Linked DNA regions of Homo sapiens: region 2 is linked to region 1. Evidence: promoter capture Hi-C in human tissues and cell types (Jung and others, 2019). All regions are on one chromosome and are shown on one strand. Each heading gives the region's core, a stretch centred on a gene start or on the middle of the fragment in contact. The rest is flanking DNA. Distances are from core to core; before and after follow the strand shown.

Region 1 (6,154 bases), core at 1,802-4,301:
ACCCCACCCTCTGCCCAGTTCATCCCACCCCATCCGCTGCCCAGTTCAGCCCACCCCATCCTCTGCCCAGTTGTGTCCCAGGGAGTGAAGCCACCTCTCAGAGTCCCAGTCTGCGACTGTAAACCAAGAACGACCATGATAACAATAATCATCATAATACCTCAGTCCCGGCATGGTTAGGGCTATTGTGACTCTCAAATGAGAGAACAGGCATTGGGCCGCAGCAAGAAAATAGAAACAACCTAAATGTCCAACATGAGGGATTGGTTACATGAATCATGCTACTCGGATGTAATGGAAACCCTCTCTGCTATGTTTAAAATTATATTACAGGCTGGGTTCAGTGGCTCATGCCTGTCATCCCAGCACTTTGGGCGGCAGAGGCAGGAGGATTGCTTGAGGCCAGGAGTTTGAAATCAGCCTGGGCAACATGGTAACATCTCATCTCTTCAAAAAATTATAAAAATTACCCAAGCATAGTGGTGCATGCTTGTAGTCTCAACTACTCGAGAGGCTGAGGTGGGAGGACGGCTTGAGACTGGGAGGTCGAGGCTGCAATGAGTGGGTGATTGCTCTACTGCACTCCAGCGTGAGAAGGGGGAGACCTTGTCTCAAAAAAATAGAATAAAAGATAAAATTTTAAACAAAAAGAAAATTTATTATAGATGTGTATTTATGGACAAGATGTTTGCAATATCTTAAGTGAAATATATGAAGTCTCAGAATGCTGCTTTTCCATTTTTAAGGTGTATTTGTACACAGAAAACATAATAGAAGCTTATGTACAAAATATTTGTGGTGGGGTCTGGCACTGTGGCTCACACCTGTAATCCCAGCACTTTGGGAGGCTGAGGCGGGAGCATCACCTGAGATCAAGAGTTCAAGACCAGCCTGGCCAACATGATGAAACCCCGTCTCTACCAAAAATACAAAAATTAGCTGGGCGTGGTGGTGTGCGCCTGTAATCCCAGCTACTCGGGAGGCTGAGGCAGGAGAATCGCTAGAACCCGGGAGGCGGAGGTTGCAGTGAGCCGAGATCGCACTATTGCACTCCAGCCTGGGCAACAAGAGAGAAACTCCATCTCAAAAGAAAAAAATTTGTAGTCATTACCTCTGAAAAATTGAATTGTGGATGATTTTAATTTTTTCCTTCTGCTTAAAAATATATGTTCCACATTTTTAAGTAAGAAACATATCACTTTTGCAGTAAGGTTGAAACCTATTTTATTCTAAATATTGAGATAAACATGTAAAATGCACAGCACAGTTCCACACACACAGTAGGGGCTTACTTGACTCTTTCCTTCCTGGCAGTGATGTTGCAAAGGCCCGAGGGAGCTTGTCTATCCTCTGTGTTAGCTTCTGGAAGAGAAGACAGCTGACAGGTTGAACTAAGAGGCCGTTGTGAACTGGGCACTATGCGACCCTCCCAATTTATACCCACCCTCCCAGTCCAGTGCAAGTCACACTTCCCCCATGAAGCCTTCCTGACTACCCTCTTCTTTTTTTTTTTTTTTTTTTTTTTTTTTTTTTTTTTTTTTTGAGACAGAGTTTCACTCTTGTTTCCCAGGCTGGAGTGCAGTGACGCCATCTCTGCTCACTGCAACCTCTGCCTCCCGGGTTCAAGCGATTCTCCTGCCTCAGCCTCCCGAGTAGTTGGGATTACAGGCGCCTGCCACCACATCTGGCTAATTTTTGTATTTTTAGTAGAGATGGGGTTTCACTGTGTTGGCCAGGCTGGTCTCGAACTCCTGACCTCAGGTGATCCGCCTGCCTCGGCCTCCCAAAGTGCTGGGATTACAGGCGTGAGCCACCGCGCTCGGCCCTTTCTTGGGTCCTCGGATCCCTCTTGTACTGTGTTGAATGTTTGGGCTCTTCCGCTCTGTTTTCTAGTCAGTTGCACCCACCCGACTGAGCCCGTGGTACTGCAGTCTTGCTGTGGTGTCTCTGCAAGCAGCTCTGCACCCCAGCACCTGGCTCGGGGCCAGGCACTGAGAAGGCAGTCAGGCCCTGTGTGCTGAATTGAAGGAATGTGTTTGTGGCTTTCAGTGACTTCGCATCTCAGGCCTTACTCTCATCCTGCTTAGTAGCAGGGGAAAGCACTTTAGCTCCGCCAGTGCCCCCAGCTGGGATCAGATTCTGACGCCATCACCTACTAGCGGTGTGGGCTTGTGCAAATCACTCCAACTCTCTAAGCCTCAGGTTTTCCAGACTTAATTATCACCTCTGCCCTCAGAGTTCAAATTAGCACTCCATTGGATGATAAATAGGCTAAATAAGATAGTAAATAGAAAGCCCTTAACACAGCGCCTGGCACATACTGAATGTTCAATAAAAGGTGGCCCCCTGCAGGTTTATTTCACCACAAACTTTATTATATGAGCCAGCACGCTTCTGGGAAGGAAACCAGGAGCTAGTCATCCTTGGGCCTGAGCTGGGTGCTGTGGCATGCGCTTGTAATCCCAGCTACTCAGCAGGCTGAGTGGGAGGATCGCTTGAAGCCAGGAGTTCAAGACCAGCCTGAGCAACATAACAAGACCCCCATCTCAAAAAACAATAATTATATTAATAAATAATTAATAATATTTAGTATTAATATAGGATTAATAAGTAATTAGTAATACTATTTATTATTATTATGCCAAGATGACAAGTATAAACTAGGCAGAACCAGGCCAACCTGGACATCTGGTCACCCTGCTTATCCTCTACTCACTACCAGCCTTGTAGGCCAGGACTGGCAGATCTTCATCTCACAAACCCCCGCCCCACCTTCCTCCTGCCTCTTCCCAGCAGCGCCCTAGCTGAGCACCTCAGGGACTTCTCCTCCCGGGGCAGGGGCCCCCCAGAACCGCAGCCTGCCTGGAGCTGCGGAATGCTCTGAAACGGGGGAGATCGCAAGTTCCCGTTCCTGCCCCCACGTCCCTGCAGACCCTGGAGCCCTTCAGCGACCCCGGGAGCCTACCGTGAGGGCCGAGCGGGTGGCGCCGGGCTGCCCTGTCTTCCTCAGGAGCAGAGAGGAGTCTGGTGTGGCCTGTGGTCAGCTCAATCCAGCCCCAGCGCTGATCAAAGTTCCAGGCAGTGGTTCCTCCCCTCACGTGGCCCCAGCGTCCCAGAATGTCACCAGGGTCACAGGACGGGAGAGGGCCTTGGCAAGGCCTCTGAAGATTACAAAATGACCCTGAACTCCTCCCATGTACAGAGCCCTGCCGGGGCCAAAATCCCACCGAGGTTGCAGGGTTGGCACCTTCAGGACCCCGAGGACACTCAGAAAGCTCTAGAGATTCCCGCAGGCGGCTGGGTTGGTGAGGCCTGGGATGGGGTCCACGCTCACACCCATACCTGTGAGCAGAGGCAGAGGGACTGGGAGCCTGCCTTCAGCCTCAGGCCCCTGCTGGGCTCTCAGCGCCCGGAGGCATTTCAAGAGGGCTGTGGATTTGTTGTTTTGTCTTGTTGTGTTTGTTTGCTTGTTTAATGAATGAACTTTCTAAACCCTTCCTGAATTAGAAGGGGGAAAAGCTATAGGGAGATGAATTGGGGCCCAATATGGAGAGGAGCGCTCACACACTCAGGGCTGGCCGAGGACGAAAGATGCTGCTTTGGAAGGGAGGGATTTTCCCATCTCCGGAGGTGTGGAACCAGGGCTGCAAGACACACGGAGTGTGTGTGTGCTGAGTGCGTGCATCTGGGGGTGTGCATGTAAGTGGGTGTAAATGTGAGTGGCTGTAGGGGGTGTGTGGTGAGTGCATGTGTGGGGGTGTGTTGTGTGTGTAAGTGGGTGTATGTGTGAGTGGGTGTGTGCGCGCGTGGGTAGGGTGTGTGTGTGGTGAGTGCGTGTGTGGGTGCGTGTGTGGGTGTATGTGTGAGTGGGTGTAGGGGTGTGTGTGGTGAGTGCGTGTGTGGGGGTGTGGTATGTAAAGAGGGTGTATATGTGAGTGGGCGTGTGTATGTGAGTGTAGGAGTGTGTGTGGTGAGAGCACATGTGTGATGTGTGTGTAAGTGGGTGTATGTGTGAGTGGGTGTAAAGGTGTGTGTGGTGAGTGCGTGTGTAAGTGGGTGTAGGGGAGTGTTTGGTGAGTGCATGCGTGTGGGTGTGGGGTGTGTGTGTGTAAATGGGTATATGTGTGAATGGGTGTAGCGGTGTGTGTGGTGAGTGCGTGTGTAAGTGGGTGTATGTGTGAATGGGTATGTAAGTGGGTGTAGGGGAGTGTTTGGTGAGTGCGTGCGTGTGGGTGTGGGGGGTGTGAGTGGGTATATGTGTGAATGGGTGTAGGGGTGTGTGTGGTGAGTGCGTGTGTGTAGGTGTGCAGTGTGTGTAAGTGGGTGTATGTGTGAGTGGGTGTGTGTAAGTGGGTGTAGGGGTGTGTGTGGTATAAGTGGGTGTGTATATGCATGAGTATGTCTCGTGTGTGTAGAATGAGAGTGTGTGAGAAAATGTGTGGTAAGTGGGTGTGAGTGTGCAGTGAGTGGGTGTGTGGGTGTATGTGTGTGGTGAGTGGGTGTGTGTGTGCAGTGTGTGGGTGTGTGGTGTGTGTGGTGAATGGGTGGGTGTGCGTGTGTGCAGTAGGTGTGAGTGTGTTGGGGTATGTGTGTGTGTGGTGTGTGGTGAGTGGGTATGTGTGAGTGTGCACTGAGTGAGTGTGAGTGTGAGGATGTATGTGGGTGTGTGGTGAGAGCGTAGGAGTGGGTGTGTGGAGGCGAGCAGGGTGAAGGGGTGACCTGGACGAGCAGTCTAAGATCGTTTCAATGCCAGGAGTCTACCATTTAAAGTAGACTGATGGCTTTTTCACTCATTGCATGGTATTGATTTTTATCTACGCTTTTTATGAGTACAAATTAATGTTTCTTTTGCACGTGAGCTGATTGCATCAGCCAAACTGCAAAGGTCTAATGGAGTGTGGCAAGGAAGTGTGTTTCAGTGGCGATATGCCACAAATGCACTCTGGCAGAGGACAGCGGGAGCCTCTGGGATGGAGACAGGCGGTGAACAGTGTGCCCAGCTCCCCCTCAGCGGCCCCCGGGCTGGCAAGGGTGGGACAGTGGCTGGGAAAAATGGCTTGCGTGGGGGCACTCACAAGCAGTTCTGGGAAGAGCCTGGCACTGCCCTGTACTCAAGGTTCTCAAGCCATCCACACTCGCCTCCAGCAACACCGTTTGTTCATTGGTCAACGTGGCCTGGTGAACAAGAGAAATTTGGCATTGGACAGATCTAGGTTTGAATTCTGACTCTTCAACTAACTAGTCAGTCCTTAGACAAGTGATTTAATCTCTACAAGTCTCTGCATTCTCGTCTGTGGAATGGGTGTGGCAGAAGGCCTGGGGAGGTAGGAGACAGAGAGAGAGAGTGTGTGTGTAGGGTGAAACATCTGTGGAAGGGGACTTGCATTAAAAATTCCAAGGATCAGCCAAGCGAGGTGGCTCACGCCTGTAATCCCAGCACTTTGGGAGGCCGAGGTGGGTGGAACATGAGATCGGGAGATCGAGACCATCCTGGCCAATATGGTGAAACCTCATCTCTACTAAAAATACAAAAATTAGCTGGGTGTGGTGGCATGTGCCCGTAGTCCCAGCAACTAGGGAGGCTGAGGCAGGAGAATCGCTTGAACCCGGGAGATGGAGGTTGCAGTGAGCCAAGATCGCGCCACTGCACTCCAGCCTGGGTGACAGAATGAGACTTTGCCTCAAACAAACAAACAAAAAAATTTCAAGGATCTTCTGAAAGAGAAGGGATGGAGATTCTAACTCCTTTCCCCATTATCCAAAATTCCAGAAAGCTGTTTGAGTGTACTAAGGTTCAGTGGCTAGGGAAGGGCAACAAGGCCCTGCCTTGCTCATGGGAGGGGTCCAGCCCTGTAATATGATGAACATGACTGACCCCTGTTGGGCTTAATCTCCTGGGACAGGCTTACACCTGGCAGAAGGGATCTAAGACACTAGAAGAGTCCAGGTAAATATGATTGGAAGCCCTTTTCCTGTGTATAATCATGGGATAAAGGGACAGGGACAGCAGATCACCCCTCTCTTAACTGCTGGACCTGCACCAGCAGCTGTGGCACCCCCAGAACCCAAAGGCCTGAGGGAGTTCTGGAGACACCTGGACACTTGGAGGGAGTCACCTTCCTTCAGACAGTGTTGCCTGAGAGCCTGGGACTTC
Region 2 (6,154 bases), core at 2,492-4,991, 260 kb after region 1:
ATCTGTCTATCTACCAATCTATCTATCTGTCTCAGACCAAAGCTTCCCCCCATGGGCTCATGGGGACTCCTCAGAGATCTACAAAGCTCCACCAGCTGAACTTTTGAAGTCCTGCAGGATTCACATCATTCCACTGACACGTGACAGAGCAGACAACCTGCTTTCCAGACCAGCATCTTCCACTAATTAACCATGTGATCTAATGTATTAGTTTGTTTTCATGCTGCTGACAAAGACATACCCAAGACTGGGAAGAAGAAGAGGTTTAATGGACTTACAGTTCCACATGGCTGGGGAGGCCTCACAATCACGGCAGAAGGCAAAGGAGGAGCAAGTCACGTCTTACATGGATGGCAGCAGGCAAAGAGAGAGCTTGTGTAGGGGAGCTCCTCTTTATAAAACCATCAGATCTCGTGAGACTAATTCACTGTCACGAGAACAGCACGGGAAAGACTTGACCCCATAATTCAATTACCTCCCACTGGGTCCCTCCCACAACACGTGGGAATTCAAGATGAGATTTGCGTGGGGACACATCCAAACCACATCACCTAAGAAAGAAAGTTGTCCTCTCTGAGTCTCAGTTTCCTCATCTATAAAAGGGGATGATAATCCCTGCTTTGCCTCCAGTGAGGGGGTGTCATGGGGCTCAGATGTAAATGCCTGGGACACATGAGGAGAATGGCTATGAGTACTCGACCCAAATCCAGCGGGGCTTCAGCCCTTGATGGGTTAGGTGCACAAGCTCCTGTCAGAGTCAGGTGGACTGGCAGAGAAAATCCACAAGAGAAACAAAGGCAGCATTCTGGAAGCAGGAACACAGGTGAGGGGCCACCCTGCTTCCCAGCTGGGAAGGATGCTGAAACAGAAGGCTCTGGATGGGAGTGGGGAAGCAGATGCCTCCCAGGAACAACAATGACAAATTCTATAAATGCCCAAGGCCTGACCACACCTGCGTCAAAAGATAAAACAGAATTTTCAAACACTCCAAGCCGAGGATGCAGGATTTGATCCATATGGCCCCATGGGACCCCTCTGCCCCTCTGGAGGCTCAGCCTGAACCACAGTGCTGCTCCCGCTGCGTCTCCTGGAAAATCGCTCCTTAGGACCAGTGCTCAGGGGGCTTGCTGGGAAAACAAGGGAGCACCTCTGCAGCTCTCCTTACCCATTTCCAGATGGCCCTTCTAATGGGATATGTATCAGTGGACACGGCCAACAGGGTGCCTGTTTCCCCACAGTCTTGCCCATTGGGATATTCACATTACAACAGTGTTTAAAACTGCTAACCGAGCAGGTACAAAGCGGCAGCACAGAGAGCATATTCTCTTCATAAAAGCCCAGGTCCCTGAATCGGGCAGGCTTAGTTTGAATCCTCTTTCTGTGATTTTTCTAACTGTAGGATCTTGGGCAAGTTACTTAACCTCTCTGTGCCTCAATTTAAAATAACATTATTAATTGTTAATAAAATAATAATAATAGATACAGGCCAGGCACGGTGGCTCACACCTGTAATCCCAGCACTTTGGGAGGCCGAGGCAGGCGGATCACTTGAGGTCAGGAGTTTGAGAACAGCCTGGACAACATGGCGAAACCCCTTCTCTACTAAAAATACACACACACAAAATAGCCAAGCATGGTGGCATATGCCCATAGTCTCAGTTATTTGGGAGGCTGAGGCATGAGAATCGAGAATCTCTTGAACACAGGAGGTGTGGGTCACAGTGAGCCGTGATTGTGCCACTGCACTCCAGCCTGGGCGACAGAGCGAGACTCTGCCTCAAAAAAAAAAAGGAAAGAATAAAAGAAAAAATAAAAATAAAACAAAATAGAAATAATAATAGTATCTCTCTGCTATGGTTTGGATGTGGTTTGTTTGGCCCCAGCGTGTCTCATGTTGAAATGTGATCCCAGTGTTGGAAGTGGGGCCTGGTGGGAGGTGTCTGGATCCTGGTGGAAGGGCCCTTCTGGTAAGTGAGCTCTCACTTTGTTCTGCAAGAACTGCTTGTTAGAAAGAGCCTGGCACCCCTTCCTCTCTCTCCTGCCATGTGAAGCCTGCTTGCCTTTGCCTTCCCCCATGAGTGGAGGCAGCCTGAGGCCTCACCAGTGCAGATGCTGGCACCACGTAAACATGCAGAACCACGAGCCACATAAACCTCTATTCTTTCTAAATTACCCAGCCTCAGGTGTTCCTTTATGGCAATGCAAAACACACTAGGATCCTTCCTCATACAGTTGTTGGGCTCATTTTTATTAACACTTACATGGTAAACAGTATTATTTTATTAATAATAAATCGCCATTTATCAAGTGTTTACTTGGTGTCATTATGCCAAGTACAAGGCTGTACAGCATAGAGGTCAATGGCACAAACTCGGGTAGAGACAGGTCTGAATCCGGTTCTATCACTGACAAACTGTGTGACCTTGAGCAGGTCACTTAACTGCTCCAGCCCCCAGTTTCCTTATCTGTAAAATGAGTATAATACTCAGGAGTCGGCTGTGGGGCAAGTTAATGTGTGTAAAGCACTTAGACCAGTACTCTGGCCCATAAGTACCACGTAAGTGTTGGCTGCTGTTGTTTACTCAGAGCCTGGCAAGTCCCTAACCCTCAGTAGACAGGCTATGATGGGAGGGGTGCCCCTAGTGCTGAGGGAGGCACCTGCCAGCCCAGCTGGACAGTGGGGCTCGGGGCTCCCTCTAGCCCTCTGATGGACACAGAAGGAAAAAGCTGGGTGGAAGCTCAAAGACGCACTTGTGGGCTTCAGTGGGAGGGAATGAAGGTGGAACACACTCTTCTTTCATGGAGTCTGTTCCCCAACAAGAATCCCTTCGACACTGAGCTACTGGAAGGGTTAAAGTGAATACAACTTTTACACATTCTCCTTCAGAAGTCCCATGATGTAGAACTTCCCAGTGCAAAGCTTTGGCCAGATGCTGCAGGAACTCCCGTGCCTTCCCAAGGGTTCCCCACACACCCTGCCTCCTCCCTCCCTTCGGAAGGATGGTTTAATGGCTGAAGTGGGCTCTTAGCTACAAAGGCATGCTCTGAATCTCTCTGAACTTCACTTAGGTCATACACAAGGTTCTGTGCACCCAGTATACAAGGAGCAACAACAGCAAACAGCAAAACCTCTCTCTCAGCCGAGTCTCTCCGGGCACCGGTGTGTCTGGGCAGCCTGGCAGGGGCCCTCACCACTGGACCATATATTCAAAACACACCTTTACTGAGAGCCCAGGACTGCAAGGTTATAGGCACCAGGAGTCAACGAGACAGGAGATAAAGTTTACATCTCAGCAGGACACAGACAAACCAAAGTAAAAGATCGTGATAAGTGCTTTGCAGAGAATTTCAATAGGTAATAAAATAGAGGAGAAGGACAGACGGGTCCTGCTTCGGACTGGGTGGTTAGGGAAGAGCTCTGGAGAAGCAGACATTTACGTTGAAGCTGGAAAGACAAGAAAGAGGCAGCTGTGAAAAATCAGGAGGGAGAGCATTCTGGGCAGAGGAATGGAGAGAAACTCTGTGCAGCTAGACAGGAGTGAACAGGAGACGAGAGATGGGGTCTCGCTATGTGGTCCAGGCTGGTCTCGAACTCCTGGCCTCAAGCGATACTCCTACCTCAGGTTCCCAAAGTATTAGGATTACAGGTGTGGGCCACCAAGAGCTCTGGCCCAGAGGAGTGTTTTAAACAAAGGAGGAACAAGATGTCATTTACATTTGTGAATGATCCCTCTGGCTGCTCGTTAGAGATGGGCAGGGCAGGACCACAGAAGAAGTGGAGAGGATGACAGCCAGGAGGCTGCTGGACTCAAGACCTAGTTTAAATAAGGAAGCATTTACAGGACTCTCAAAAGGAATGGATGGGCATGGGGGTGTGGCCAGGGAAAGAGGAATTTTGGGCTTGAACCACTGCAAAGACAGTGCGTCATTTACTAAGATGAGGAAGATGGGGAGAGGAGCCGGTCTGGGCATGGAAATCCAGAATTCTGTGTTGGACGAGGTAAGCGTGAGATGCCATATGGTGACAGCTGAATGGGCAGCTGGGCAGCCGAGATGGGAACTGAGGGGAGGGGAAAGGACGGAGACACGAATGGGGGAAGTCAGCAAGAACTGGTGTGCAGAGCGAGGGGACTGTGGGACTGCAGGGCCCACCAGGAGCAGGGAGCCTGCCTGGGACAGGGCGTTGGACTCCCTCTCTACAGTCAAGCTTACCCAGAGGAGCCAGCAGAGGCCGAGGGGAAAGAAGAGCCTGTGAGGGTGGCAGGAAACACAGAAGAGTGGGGGCCACAGACGCCAGGAGCAGCTGGTGGCCGAGTGCGTGGACTCTCAGAATGGAATGATGGTGGACTTAGCAGCTTGGAGGTCATCGGTGACCTCGACAAGACAGTCTTGGTGGAATAGTGGGACATGGGGTGAACTTCTCGTCACCTCTTTCCCAATTCTCTTCCTCCTGAGGACCCCTCGTGTAGGCCAGAACTCAGGGAGTCACCCGGAGCCCTGCCTCCCTCACCCGCACCTCCTCACCCCTCCAGCGCTCCACTTCCCAACTCGCTCAACTCTGTCTCTGCTTCTCCGTCTGCTCCAACCTCAGTTTAGGCCACACTTCCTTTTCCTCGGGCTTCCAACTGGCCCTGACTGACTGCTCGGCTGCTACTCTCCTCTCCCCCAGGCCACCCGCAACAACTTCCCCAGATGGCTCTAAAATGCACATCTGACCCTGAGTCTCCAGTACTCAAGCCTCCTGACTCCCATCACTCTCAAGATGATAGACACGGCCGGACGCAGTGGCTCACACCTGTAGTCCCAGCACTTTGGGAGGCCGAGGCCAGCAGATCACGAGGTCAAGAGATCGAGACCAGCCTGGCTAACATGGTGAAACCCCGTCTCTAGTAAAAATACAAAAATTAGCTGGGCGTGGTGGCAGGCTCCTGTAGTCTCAGTTTCTCTGGAGGCTGAGGTAGGAGAATCACTTGAACCCGGGGGGCTGCAGTGAGCTGAGATCATGCCACTGTACTCCAGCCTGGGCGACAGAGTGTCTCAAAAAAAAAAAAGAGAGAAAAAGATGATAGACTCCGTGTCTAAACGACCCGACCCCTGCCTCCTCCAGCCCTTTCATCTCCCCTCACTCCTAAATGGTACCAGCATATACCACCCCGAAATATGCCTCTTTAGCATATGGATTCCTTAGATCTAAAGGTCTTTGAAAACCAGCAGAAGCAGAAGCTATTAACCTCCCCTAACTGCCTGAAAAGAGAGTACACATTTTCCCTTTCATAAAGGAAATTTCCATTTGTAAAGATATTTCTGCACCAGGAAGAGAGCTACTTCCACCCGAGAGACTCTCACCTGCATAGCAAGAAAACCCTTATTTCCCACACAGGTCCTCCCTCACCTTGCCTCCCACCCCAGAACCCCAAACCTCTTTTTCTTGATTTAGCCTAATATGGTATATACGCCTCCATCAACTGGCCACCTCCTTGAGCCACATTTTTCTTTGTACATTTAAAGCTGTTTTTTCTTGTTACTCTGTGTTTCATCAGAGGGGACAGGGAAAATATTTTTCTCTCCAACACTCCCCCATATCTGCCCCTCCACTGCAGCCTTGGACAGCTCCTTCTTTTTTACCTGCTTCTCTTGTTTTCTCCTGCTCATCCCTCAGCTAAAGCATCACCTCCTCCAGGAAGCCTTCCATGACTGCTTCCCATCCTCTCAGACACCTGGCCATGACCGATGGCCACTCACCTGCTGCACAGGCTCGATGGTCAGCTCCATGTAGCGACTGATTGCTGTCATTGTCCTCAGTGACTTGCAGTGTGACAGTGTGGTGAGAGGCACCCAATCCAAATTCTTGCAAGTAGAGGCAGGGAGACAGAAAGGGGAATTCTCAAAGTCAGGAGGCATTTTCTAAAAACAAGGTCACATTTTATTCAAAAGGACCCCCGTGGTATTTTCTCTCTCTCTTTTTTAACGGCACGTCTCACTTTCTGCTTCCTATAAGATGTGTCTTATCTTTCTCTTCGAGGCCACAGTCATTTAGTGTTTCCCAAATTTTGCAACACAGTAGAATCAGCTAGGAATCTTTTTTATTTTATTTTATTTTTTGTAGAGACCAGTTTCACTGTACTGACCAGGTTGGTCTCAAAGTCCTGGGCTC

What was found. Contacts are between HindIII fragments. The study calls those that stand out against the background at their distance.
Region 2: a fragment that was not itself captured here is called in contact with the fragment with the promoter of CPN2 in region 1 in 1 of the 25 tissues and cell types used here (aorta).

The regions. Positions count from the first base shown.
Region 1 is chr3:194,348,277-194,354,430 of GRCh38, forward strand. It overlaps CPN2 (carboxypeptidase N subunit 2), which reads right to left and starts at 3,052. Exons shown (of 2, transcript NM_001080513.4): 1 at 2,966-3,052. RefSeq lists an enhancer at 2,528-3,377. The HindIII fragment of the contact is 16,925 bases long and covers 1-6,154 here.
Region 2 is chr3:194,605,174-194,611,327 of GRCh38, forward strand. TMEM44 (transmembrane protein 44) reads right to left here. Exons shown (of 10, transcript NM_001011655.3): 8 at 5,743-5,847. It overlaps LOC105374291 (a long non-coding RNA gene), which reads left to right. Exons shown (of 4, transcript XR_007096222.1): 4 at 1-1,826. Among named protein-coding and RNA genes, the nearest start is that of TMEM44-AS1, 24 kb to the left of the region's middle. The HindIII fragment of the contact is 4,521 bases long and covers 1,482-6,002 here.